Linked DNA regions of Homo sapiens: region 1 is linked to region 2. The links are contacts of gene promoters, found by promoter capture Hi-C in human tissues and cell types (Jung and others, 2019). All regions are on one chromosome and are shown on one strand. The core of a region is centred on a gene start or on the middle of the fragment in contact, and the rest is flanking DNA. Distances in the headings are between cores, read along the strand shown.

Region 1 (6,624 bases), core at 2,765-5,264, 1.9 Mb before region 2:
TCCATATCCATCAATGCAACCTGCTGACTTTATAGCTTCTACTCAAGCCATCATAATTTTTCTTTTTTCTGGTAATTACAACCGTTCCCAACAGCTCTCTATGCCCCCTCTGTAGTCTGTTGTCAACACAACAGTCAATGCAATCTGTTTAAAACCTAAGTCAAGGCCGGGCGCGGTGGCTCACACCTGTAATCCCAGCACTTTGGGAGGCTGAGGTGGGCAGATCACGAGGTCAGGAGTTCGAGACCAGCCTGGCCAATATGGTGAAACCCTTTCTCTACTAAAAATACAAAAGAACTAGCTGGGAGTGGTGGCGTGCACCTGTAGTCCCAGCTACTCGGGAGGCTGAGGCAGGAGAATCGCTTGAACCCAGGAGGTGGAGGTGGAGGTGGAGGTGGCAGTGAGCCGAGATTGCGTCACTGCACTCCAGCCTGGGCATAGAGGGAGACTCCGTCTCAAAGAAAACAAAACAAAAAAACCTAAGTCAAATTATGTCAGTCCTCTGCTCACAACCCTGCAATGGCTTCCCATCTTATGGAGAGTGAAAACCAGAGGCTATACATGGTGAGCAAAGCCCTGTAAGATTTGCTCACAACACCCTCCCTCCTTCCTCTGTAGCCCCGGATCATTCTGCTGCAGCCACACTGGCCTAACACTGCCTAGCACACAGTAGGTGCTAAAGGGATATATTTTGAATCAGTATATTTCATCACTGCCCTTCCGATGCTGTGGAGGCAGCATGGCACGGTGGCTAGCAGTGTGTTGTCAGAGAGCACAGTGTCTAAAAGTGTGGTGGCCTTCTTGGATTTAAATCTGAGCTCTACTTACTATCAACATGACCCTGGACAAGCTACTTAACCTCCGTATCCTCAACTGGCAAATGAGGACAGAAAGTGTACCTATCTGATGGGCAGGTAGGATGTGAGGATGAAATAATGAGTATAAAACACTGATAACATCTGGAACTACATAAATGGTAGACAGTAATTACTTGCATTAGAAGGTACACTCCCACGTCCACAGGGATTTTTGTCTGCTTTTTTAGTTTTATTTTTTTGAGACAGGGTCTCTTTTGTCGTCTAGACTGGAGTGCAGTGGTGCCATCTTGGCTCACTGCAATCTCTGCCTCCAGGTTCAAGTGATTCTTGTGCCTCAGCTCCCAAGTAGTTGTTATTGTAGGTGTACCACCACACCCGGCTAATTCTTTTTGCATCTTTAGTAGAGCTGGGGTTTTGTCATGTTGGTCTTTAACTCCTGGCCTCAAGTGATCCACCTGCCTTGGCCTCCCAAAGTGCTGAGATTACAGGCAGGAGCCACCAGGATGGGCCACATTTTTTGTCTACTTTGCTCACTACTGTATCTTTAGTGTCTAAAATAGTGTCTGATACACAGTAGATGGTCAGTGAATGATTTGCTGAATGAATTAAGCTTCACCATCACATTTCCTGCAGTATTGCAGCAGCTTCCTACCTGAATTCCTGCCCCAGACTTCTTGAGTGTTGTGTTTTTTTGTTTTGTTTTGCTTTCGAGATGGAGTTTCGCTCTTGTTGCCCAGGCTGGAGTGCCATGGTCCAATCTCGGCTCAGTGCAATTTCCGCATCCTGGGTACAAGCAATTCTCCTGCCTCAGCCTCCTGAGTAGCTGGGATTACAGGCCCCTGACTCCATGCCTGGCTATTTTTTTTTTTATTTTTAGTAGAGACGGGGTTTCCCCATGTTGGTCAGGCTGGTCTCGAACTCCTGACCTCGGGTGATCCACCTGCGTCGGCCTCCCAAAGTGTTGGGATTATAGGCATGAGCCACCACACTGGCCCTGAATGTTCTTTAGACTCGAATCCAGTGGTTCTCAAACTTTAGGGTCCATCAGAATCACCTAGAAGGTGTGTTAAGCTGCAAACTGCCAGGCCCCACTCTCCCAGAGTTTCTGATTCACTAGGTTTGGTCTGGGCTATGCTTACCTATCTTGCCTATTTTCTATCCTGTCTTTCTCTTTGTCCTGACTCTATTTCCCTTTGTTTGTACTGTATCCATTGTGGAAAGAGGAGGAGATAAATAAGTGAGCAAATACATAAGATCACGAGCATTAACTTGACCTGCCTTTCCTGGAGCTCTACCGTGAGATTCTTCGGACACTAGACTCACAGCAGAATTTGTTGTTAGGTCTCCATAACCCTGCCAGGGCAGTTGTTCCCATGTGTTCTAAGACAAACCATCAAAGGTGTTGCCAGTAGTATACTAGCAGGATATTTTACCTCAATTAGTGATTATGTTGTGTATACCTTTCCATGTCACCCCTCCTCCCCCTCCTCAAGATTTCATGGAAATCTGTATTTGAATAGAACTCTGAGTATCATGGCTACAGGCACAAGCTGACATTCACTAGGGATGTCATTCTGTTTTGTTTTGTTTTTTTGAGACAGAGTCTCTCTCTGTTGCCCAGGCTGGAGTGAACTGGCATGATCTAGGCTCACTGCAACCTCCGCCTCCCAGGTTCAAGTGATTCTCCTGCCTCGGCCTCCCGAGTAGCTGGAGATGTGTGCCACCATGCCCGGCCGATTTTTGTATTTTTAGTAGAGATGGGGTTTCACCATGTTGTCCAGGCTGGTCCTGAACTCCTGACCTCAGGTGATCACCTGCCTCAGCCCTCCAAAGTGCTGGGATTACAGGCATGAGCCACTGAGGTGGGCTGGGATGGCATTCTGATTCCTGATTTCCCTGGTCAGAAATCTTTGTTCCTGGATTTGTTCTCACGTTACCTTGCGTCTCTGTGGAAGCATTTATTTGCCATATTCTGCAAACATGTTGTCGCCAGATAGATTGAATGCTACCCGAAGGTTTGTCACAGTGCTGTGCACAAAGTGGGACTTCAAGTGTTATGGAGGCCTGGAAAGCCAGGTACAATGGCTCACCCAGCACTTTGGGAGGCCGAGGCGAGCGGATCGCATGAGGCCAGGAGCTCGAGACCAGCCTGGTCAACGTGGTGAAACCCCGTCTCTGCTAAAAATATAAAAATGAGCCAGGCGTGGCGGCGCGTGCCTGTAGTCCCAGCTACTCTGGAGGCTGAGGCAGGAGAATCGCCTGAACCCGGGAGGCGGAGGTTGCAGAGAGCCGAAATCACGCCACTGCACTCCAGCCTGGGCGATAGAACTAGACCCCAACTGAATAAATAAATAAAATAAAGCGAAAGTGTTCTGGGTTGTTTGTGTTTAATTATACTAAGGAGATTTGATAGGAAGGAGCACAATAAATGTCATGGTGATTATTTGGTTTATTGTAATACAATAAAGGAAATACAATAAAAGGTTTAACAAACCTTTTCATAAAGTTGCTTTGGTTGTTAAAAAATTTTAGACCTTTCCTGCCATTTTTCTTTTTTTAAGTACATCATTCTAACTTCCTAAAAGTATAGCTCAAAAAGGTGGGGGCCCAGGGGAGAGGCCAGCAGCGAAGGCATTATTGGGATCTTATTTGCCCCAAGATCACGCAGAGATGATTTATTCAGTTTGTAGATTATATAAACGGAAGAGGGAATTAATAGTTCCTGAATCTACCATGAGTCAGATACAAACTTTCTCATACAACCCTCACGGTAATCCCACAAGGTTAGAAATTGGGAACAGAAGAGAGAGGGCGGGGAACTGAGCTCGGGTTTCAGGCTAGCAGCAGACAAGCAGGAAGCGGAACGAAGAATGATTTCTAAGCGCAGTTCCGCAGCCCACTCACCTCGTCGGCTGGGGCCACCTGCTCTGGGAGTTTCGATTTCCCTTCCCGCGACTGCACCTCCACAGACATGGGCAACGCCTTACCAGAGCAACACCTGTGTTTGTTGGGCGGGAATGAGCCTTGCACTGGGCAGGGCTCAGGGCCCATCGCGTGCAGCGAAGCGCGGGTGATTTAAACCCAAGCAGCGGGCGCCTAGAACCCGACCGGATGCTCCTTGACTTTGCCCCCGGTCTCCGGACTCCTCTGATTGGACGTGGCTGCGTTCGGCCGCCCAATGGCGAGGCAGCGCGCGGCTTCCCGGAAGTGGCGGCGCGGTCAGGGCTGGCCTTGGCTTCAGCTGCGGTTTTGGGGTCCCGGACTCTGGGATCGGCGGCGCTATGAGTTCTTTCGAGGGGCAGATGGCCGAGTATCCAACTATCTCCATAGACCGCTTCGATAGGGAGAACCTGAGGGCCCGCGCCTACTTCCTGTCCCACTGCCACAAAGGTGAGTGAGGGCTGCGCGTCGCCCGCTCCCGGGGCGCTGGGGGCTGGAGAGAGGACAGGAGGGGGCCGGCCCTGGAGCAAGGAGCTGCAGCCTGTGGGAAGCCAGCGAGGGGGCGGCCAGCACACGCCTTGTCCCAGTCGGGCTCTTCAGCCTCTCAAAGGCTTCATCTATTTTCGGATGTGGTCAACGCGGCGTAACGGCGCCTGCCAGTTGCGCCCCGGGCCGGCTTGGTCAAGCACTGCTAGTAGTTTCTCTTGGTAGCTTTGCTGGTGGCCGATGATCAGAGATTGGCGAGGGTTAGTACTTCCCTCAGAGCCTCGCTACCATGTATGAAGAAAACAAGTTTCAGATCCATTTGACCACACCCTCAAACATTGGTCAGCAAGCAGGAGACTCAGACACACACACAACTGTGGAACAGCCCGCCTAAGAGCTCCACGAAGTGCAAGCTCCTTGGCCTTTGGGTGTTCTGTCCGTATCCAATATGAAAGTTTCGTTCTAGTTTAGGTTGGAGGGATGTTTCCCTTCTAGATGGTATCAGGCAACCTGAAAAGCTACTATGATTTCACAGCTGGATCCTTTCACAGCTGGGCCGATTTAGGGATTAAGGTTAGAGTGTCGCTGATGCTCCAAGCAGAGATTGGAGCTAAGTTCCAGAGTTTAAATACCGCTAACTTGACAACCATTGTTCATTTTCACTTCTATTGTGCTAACAAGTCACTAACTTTTACCAGGGAAAACAGTTTTAATGCTCATTGTGCTAATTCGCCCAGCCATTAGTGTTAATTGGAGAAAATGATAAACGGAATCACTGGAGTTGCTGCCTCCTGCTGTGTGGCCTTGCAGCGTGCTGGAGCAGGAAGCTCCCACTACCCTGTGGAGTCAATCAGCGTAACAAACCTATCTGTACCTGCGCAGTAGGAAAGTATTTTAAAGTAAATTACAGGTATCCAAACACAGCCTTTCCTCACAGGGTTGGTGTGAAGGCCAGCTATGTTGTTTTGTGTGTGGAATCAATCACTTGGACTATAAATCGTTGAAGTTACTGCTTCTGCGAAATGTCTCTGCTTTTTTTTTCCACAAAGCCACCAGTGATTTCTCTTTAATGGGAAAATCTGGACCTCTTCTCGTGCGTTGCCGTATTCGCATCGTGCACGTCTTTGAGCATCTCCTTCTTCTTTTTCTTTTTTTTGGAGACAGGGTCTCCCTTTGTCGCCCAGGCTGGAGTACAGTGTGGCACATGCTCTCTGCTCAAGTAGTTGGGACTACAGGAGTCAGCCACCATGCCTAGCTAATGTTTGTATTTTTATTATTATTTTGAGGTGGAGTCTCCATCACCAGGCTGGAGTGCAGTGGCGTGATCTCTGTTCACTGCAACCTCCGCCTCCTGGGTTCAAGCGATTCTCGTGCCTCAGCCTCCCAAGTAGCTGGAGTTACAGGCACGCACCACCACACCCAGGTAATTTTTGTGTTTTTAGTAGAGATGATGTTTCACCATGTTGGCCAGGCTGGTCTCGAACTCCTGGCCTCAGGTAGATCCACCCACCTCAGCCTCCCAAAGTGTTAGGATTACAGGTGTGAGCCGCTGTGCCTGACACATTTCTGGTTTTGTTTTTCATTGAGAATCCACTGCTGGACGAGGATATGCCTATTTTTACTTTTTGTGTAGAGCCGCACTGGAGTCTCTGAACTCAAAATGGGCTAGCCAGGATTAAAGTATACTTCCGAAACTTGCACTTCGTGTTTAGGATGGCTGAGTTTGGAGAAATAATAAATCTAAAGGAATTTGAAATCATCATAAGTTTGTGCATTAAGCCAGAAATGGACTCTTCCCTACTGTTGAACAGTCTATAACAACTTTTTCTGTTCTCTGACCACATGTGGATCTGCTTAGTCAACCAGGACATAAACTCATCAAGGGTGAAAACACAACTTCTGCTTTTGGAGGTTTCTCACATTGCCTTCTGTTGGCTTTTCACCTTTTTGGGACACAGGCTTCTTTGATTATGATATGGACTATCTCCACAAAATTCATATGTTGAAGCCCTAACCCCCAAAGCGACTGTATTTGGGGCTGGGGCTTTTAGGAGGAAAATAAGTTTAAGTGGGGTCCTACCGTGGTGTCCTACTCTGATAGGATTAGTTTCCTTACAAGAGAAGGAAGAGAGAGGGCGCTCTGTCCTCATGCGGGGCCTAGGAAAGCCATGTGAGTGCATAGTGAGAAGGCGGCTGTCTGTAAGTTAGGAAAAGTGCCCTCTCCAGAAACCAAATCGCCCCGCATCTTGATCTTCCCAGCTTCCTGAACTGTGAGAAATACCTTTTTGGTGTTGAAGGCAACCAAAACACTACCTTTCCTTACAGCGCTGGTGTGAAGGCCAACTATGGTATCTATGGTATCTTGTGATAGCAGCTCAAA
Region 2 (6,427 bases), core at 13-2,512:
GTTTTCCGGGGGTGGGTGGGGGGGTGGGGGGGTGGAGGTTAGGTTAGTTATATTCCTAGCATAATATGCAACCTAAAGGTTAGTTTATAAAAAAAGAAGCTGTTACTTTTATTGTGTTGTACGTAATATATAAAGAACGCCTAAAATTGGCCCAGTGGAAAAACAGATGAATTATGCCAGGACTTAAATCAATGATCGTCCTCTGTCTACAGGTCACATTTAAACTTGCCTTGTCCACTCCAGGGCAATCCCTGGCCTTGGGGTCTGCCCTGGGACTTCTCCAGCCCCCGCCCCAAAACTGGGCCTGTCCTGGGAGGCAGCCTGGCACCACTAACTCTTCTCTCCCTGGGTCAAAAGAGCAAGGTGGGTTCTTCTGTTCACACAGCCTGCACCTTGCTAACCAGATCCAAAGGCTTCTGAGGTCCTCACATTGCCTTACTTTTCTATGCTTTCATTTTCCATTTCATCCTTACAAACAGTTCCTTGGTGTACATTTCCATACAACAGTTTTCCTGCTGGTGGAGGCCAGGTCGGAACCTGGGTTTCATTTTCTTTGAGCGATGTTTACTTCCTGTAGCTTATGCATTTCGATGGCAAAAACAATTCCTTTGGGGTTCTCGGCCTCATCAAATATTCTCTCTATATAGAGTGTACACACTCTCCTAGACACAGCAGTCTATGTGGATTCCCACCGACCCTGGGCACCTCATTCAGCTCGGGTAGTGGTCCCATGTCTCCCACAGGCGTGTCTGTAACCACCTCCTTATGGCGAGGAACTGGCTGCGGAATCCTTCCCAGCCTGCGGGAGGACGTCACCTCCAAGTCTCTGGGTGACTTGTAGAGGGGTTACCTGCGGCCAAGAGGCCGGCCCTGGACCCTTCTTGGGCCCACCCTGTGTTCACTACCCACCCTCTCCCACCAGGTCAGGACCCGCCGAGGCTTGGGGATCCTCCCAGGGCAGCCGTCTCGCGGGAGGGCCGCCCCACCCCTCGCCACCCTCACCCCGACAGGCTCCGGGCCGCGGGGCAGGGCGGCGGGTACCGTTTTCAGGCCGCGGAAGCGCCCGCCGGGAAGGAGCCGCCGCCCCCTCGCCCACCGCTGCAGCCCCCTGCCCTGGCTCACCTGCCGCCCGGCTTGGCTTCGCTCAGGGTCACTGTTTCCTCGGCATCGTGCCGCCTGGAGAGAACTCCCGACCGGGATGGGACGCTGACCAGGGAACCTGCCGGCGGGCGGCGGCGGTGGCGGAGGGGGCAGCCGGGACTGGGGTGCCTAGGGCTGATGCGCGGCCTGGCGACCCCGCCCAGCGCGGCTCAGCTGACAGCCAGCCGCTCCCTGCCCGCGCCGGGGAATTTCCCGGGCCCCGCCCATCCCATACCCCGCCCATCCCCCCCACCCTGCCCATTCCATACCCCACCCGACCAAGGCCCCGCCCCTCCTCTTTCCTGCGTCCGCCCCCAGCTACCCACCCTCGCTGTCCGTGCGGGGTCGAGGCTGGGACCCGGGTGAACAGGGACTGCTCTAAGGCGTCACTGTGACGGCGTTAATCAAAATAAATCATTAATCAAATGCAGTGTGCGGAGTTCGTCTTCCCCGTGTCTTCCCGCAGATCCCGTAGTGGAGGCTGGAGCCGCAGGGGGTCGCTGCCGCCCACAGAAAGAGGAGAATGCCAGGCATCCTCGGAGGGAGGCCTCCATCTGTGTTTTTTGAAAAAAGGTTAACATCTAGACATAGTTAACTGAGCATACATAGCTTTCCACTCGTTTTTGCTTTAAAATACACTCAAAAAGCAGAAAGCCTGCAGGATGCTTCTTGGGCTCTTGTTGCGGACGAATAGGCTCGGCTATTCTTGTTGCTGAAGAATAGCCTCTGCTGGTGTGGAGGAGGGAAGCTGCCCCCGGATTAGACAGCAGGATGACAAGGTAGGAGCGAGAGCCGCCCTATGTGCATCCAGAGTACCCGGGTAGCGCTGCAGGGATGGGAGGGAGGGAAGGAGGGAGGGGGAGAGAGAGAGAGAGGGAGGGACGGAGAGAGGGAGAGAGGGAGGGAGAGAGGGAGGGAGGGAGAGAGGGAGAGAAAAAAAACAAAACAACAACAACAAAACCTAATCTGAAACAGGAAAAAGGCAGATGCGCCCTCTCCTGGTATCTCCGAAGGATTCTGCTTCGCTGTCTGGACCTCCTGCTGCCTGGCCAAGCCTGACTCTCAACCCTGCCCCTGAGGCTAACCCCAAGAGCAGGGCAGAGAAGCAAGCAAGTCAGCGACTGCCCCAGACCCAATTCCGGGCCCTCGAGTTGGTGTGGTGTAGGAGGGGCAGATGAGGCTAGAGGCTGCTTTATAAGGAGTGAGCCTGGGGGTGGGAGTGGGGAGAAATAGAGAATTTAAAAAAATTCTTTTTATATCAGTGCAGGAGGGCCAGGCGCGGTGGCTCACGCCTGTAATCCCAGCACTTTGGGAGGCCAAGGCAGGCAGATCGCAAGGTCCGGAGTTCGAGACCAGCCTGGCCAATATGGTGAAAGCCTGTCTCTACTAAAAATACAAAAATTAGCCGGGCATGATGGTACTCTCCTGTAGTCCCAGCTACTCGGGAGGCTAAGGCAGAAGAATCGCTTGAACCCGGGAGGCAGAGCTTGCAGCGAGCCGAGATCATGCCACTGCACTCCAGCCTGGGTGACAGAGTGAGACTCCGTCTCAAAAAAAAAAAAAAAAAAAAAAAATCAGTGCAGGAAATAACTGATCATTCATGAAAAGGGCTTGGAAAAATATATACAGAGAGAAATGGAATGACGATCTCTAATTTTTGTTTATCTACTGGGATAATCCAGGCAGAAAAGACGGTGTCACAGCTGTACCCTGGGATCGGCAGAAAAGGGTCCCCCCGGGGCCTGTAAGGGGTGCCTGCGGTAAGTCGTACTTCACTAGGCTCCTTTTACTGTTTAAAACCCTATAGGTGGGGCACGGTGGCTCACACCTGTAATCCCAGCACTTTGGGAGGTCAAGGCAGGAGGATCGCTTGAGCCCAGGAGGGAGAGGCTGCAATGAGCTGTGATTGCAGCACTGCACTCCAGCTTGGGTGAGAGGGAGACTTTGTCTCAAGCAAAAACAAAAACGAGAACAAAACAACACTATGAAAGTGAATTAAAATGAGCATCAGTGAAACTCAGAGCCAAGAGAAGAAGGTCACCCACAAGCTGCCCATGGCTTTGGTGTGGGAGGCTCGAGGTGAGTTTCTGGTACAGAAAGCAGTCAAAGTTGTTTTCTCCTGATTCCTTGCTCTCAGTGGTGGGGTCGGGGTGGGGGGTGCCCTGAAGCACTGCACACACACATGCACACACACTCCCCCGACAACCACTTCTTAGCTGTAGGACCTTGACCAAGTTACTTCATCTTACCCTTCCTCATTCCCTTTATCTGTAAAATGGGGAGTATAGTACACTCCCAAATCCAGAAAGTTCTAAGGACCAAACCTCTTTTCTGACCAGACCCAACTGATGGAAAGCTATTTACAGTCTTTATTTAGATCCCTTGATGTGATTTTTAAATTTGTTTTGTGAAGGAAAATCGAATAGTTGATAGGAGAACTGCGTCAGACAGTGTCAGGGTGTTATGTGATATAAATCCCATTTATTGAATAGCCTTTTGAAAATCCCCAGAATTCTGGACTCTAAAGCAGAGCTTGCCCCAAAGGTTTTATTTTATTTTTTGAGGTGGAGTCTCACTCTGTTGCCCAGGCTGGAGTGCAGTGGCATAATCTCAGCTCACTGCAATCTCCACCTCCTGGGTTTGAGTGATTCTCCTGCCTCAGCCTCCCAAGTGGCTGGGATTACAGGCGTGTGCCACCACACCAAGCTAATTTTTGCATTTTTCGTATTGATGAGGTTTCGCCATGTTGACCAGCCTGGTATTGAACTCCTGACCTCGGGTGATCCACCTGCCTCGGCCTTCCAAAGTGCTGGGATTACATGTGTGAGCCACGGTGCCCAGCCACCCAAAAATTTTAGATAAGGCCTCTGGACCCACAGCCCTCACCTAAGGATGCTGAGAAGATTAAAGAGGAAATACGTCTTCAACACCTAGAAGAACGCCTGGCTCATGGTGTTTGTTGCTGTTGCTTGTGTTAGAGCCGGTTCTGTTTCTTAGCCTGGATCATCCCGTTTGGTGACTCCATCTTCCTGCACACTTCCATGGGTAGATGGAATCTAAATGCAGCGAAAAAACTGAAATAATAGCATGCTCTTAGCTGATTTGTTGATGTGGTTTTGTGGTGGGTAAATGTAGAGCAGTGTGGGAAGGTTTTTAGTGAGATCCTAATCTGGGTTTGATGTTCCTTGTGTTCCCTTTCCACCCCAATCTCCTCTGTTTGGAGTTAGCAACGAGTCCCTTTGGGCTTCCTACCTTCAGGAGCGTTGGCTGGACTCCTGGCAACAGCTCTTAGAAGTACAGCCTTTCTTCTTGTCTTTTGAGAAAGCCTGATCTCAATACATCCATGATCTACCCCAGATGTCCTGGAGGAAGAGCCAGAGCTGGGTGGGGTGGAGGCTTTCACAACAGTTGGAGGGAGGAGTGACTCCCCCGCCCCCAGATTGGGAGGAGGAGTGGGATGGTGGTCTTATGAGCATCAAGGACTCAAGCCTCAGTCCCTGCAGCACCCAGACAGACAGCAAGCTCTTGGGATGCACCTACTGGACTTTGGGAACCTCCCGCAGATTCTGCTGCCCAGGCTTGTCATTGGAAACAGCAGAGACTGTTCCCTAGAAGAACCATTTGATAATGAGGGTATCAGTGGCAATGTTGCTGGGCTGAAAAATAAATGGCCCTTACTTCAATGGGTACCAAAAGCCCTCCTGGAGTTTTGCATGGCCGTAGGGAAGGAGACCTCCCCTCTCCAGACCCCAGTGGTGCCCGAAAATAGGTTTCCGTACACCCCTGCAGAACTGGGTTTAAAGAAAGTAAAGAGGCCCAGGGCGGTGGCTCACGCCTGTAATCCCAGCACTTTGGGAGGATCGTTTGAGGTCAGGAGTTCAAGACCAGCCTGGCTAACATGGTGAAACCCTATCTCTACTAAAAATATAAAAATTAGCCAGGCAGTAGTGGTGCGTGCCTGTAATCTCAGCTACTTGAGAGGCTGAGGCAGGAGAATTGCTTGAGCCTGGGAGTCAAAGGTTGCGCTGAGCCAAGATGGTGCCACTGCACTCCAGCCTGGGCCATGGAGTGAGACTCTGTCCAAAAAGAAAGAGAGAGAGAGAGAGAAGGAAGAAAGGTAAGAAGGAGGGAAGGAAGGAAGTAGAGAGAGAAAGGAAGGAGGGAAGGAAGGAAGGAAGGAAAAGAAAAGAAAAGATATGTAATATTTTTATGTGCATCTGAGGTGGTAGACTAATATTCGTACTTGCTACCCCAGATGCCAAAGACTACATATGCTATGACTCCATATACATTAAATGTCCAGAAAAGGAAAGTAGAAAAAGACAGAAATCAGACCAGTAGTTGCCTGAAATTGGGGGTGGCTTTGAACTGCAAAGGAACTCGAGGGGATTTTTGGGGGATGATGGAAATATACTAAATTTGAATTGTAATGATGGTTTTACAACTTTTTAAGTGTAATTGAAAGCCATGAATCATACATTTACAAATGGGGTGAATTTTATGGCATGTGGATTATACCTCAATAGAGCTGTACAAACACCACCAAAAAGAACACGACCTAATAATTATGTCCAATAAAGCAGGGGTCCCCAAACCCCGGGTGGTGAACCAGTACTGGCCTGTGGCCTCTCAGGAACTAGACCGAACAGCAGGAGGTGAGCAACGGGTGGGTGAGCATTATGGCCTAAGCTCCGCCTCTTGTCAGATCAGCAGCTGCATTAGATTTTCATAGGAGCGTGAACCCTATTGTCAACAGAACATGCAAGGGATCTAGGTTGCGTGCTTCTTATGAGACTCTAATGCCTGATGATCTGAGGTGGACCCATTTCATCCCAAAACCACCCCCCCACCCACCACCATCCATGGAAAAATTGTCTTCCATGAAACCAGTTCCTGGTGTCAAAAATGTTGGGGACTGCTGCAGCAAAGGGTGTGCCCCTGCTCCTGTGAGGCCACTGGTGTGGTCGCTGCATGAATCATCTGCCCTATGGTTGACCTTGGTCTGGACTTTGTCTCAGCTTTAGTTTGATTCAGTTCATCACTGGTTCCAAATATTCCGAGGATGAGTTCCTTGGAAAGTTAAACAGAGAGTTATGATATGACCCAGCAATTCCACTTCTAGGTGTACACTCCAAAGAAACTGAAAACAGAGACTCAAACAGGTGCGTGTCTATGCCTCTAATAGGTTGCTTTCCTTTCCCTGAAATCCAGCATGAAAGCAACTCCCTGTATGAGAAGCAAGGTGTATGGTTGAAGCCTCCATCAGAATGAGGCTCTGGGATTAGGG

Evidence for each region. Contacts are between HindIII fragments. The study calls those that stand out against the background at their distance.
Region 1: a contact is called between the fragment with the promoter of DCLRE1C here and the fragment with the promoter of OPTN in region 2, in 1 of the 25 tissues and cell types used here (aorta).

What each region holds. Positions count from the first base shown.
Region 1 is chr10:14,951,486-14,958,109 of GRCh38, reverse strand. DCLRE1C (DNA cross-link repair 1C) reads left to right here and starts at 4,014. Exons shown (of 14, transcript NM_001033855.3): 1 at 4,014-4,208. The coding sequence starts at 4,100. It also overlaps a transcript of MEIG1 not described here. RefSeq lists a silencer at 3,823-3,902 and enhancers at 3,921-4,648, 4,649-5,377. The HindIII fragment of the contact is 23,477 bases long and covers 1-6,624 here.
Region 2 is chr10:13,094,998-13,101,424 of GRCh38, reverse strand. OPTN (optineurin) reads right to left here and starts at 1,262. Exons shown (of 15, transcript NM_001008212.2): 1 at 1,123-1,262. It also overlaps a transcript of CCDC3 not described here. RefSeq lists an enhancer at 477-606 and silencers at 887-1,456, 1,927-1,986. The HindIII fragment of the contact is 16,289 bases long and covers 1-6,427 here.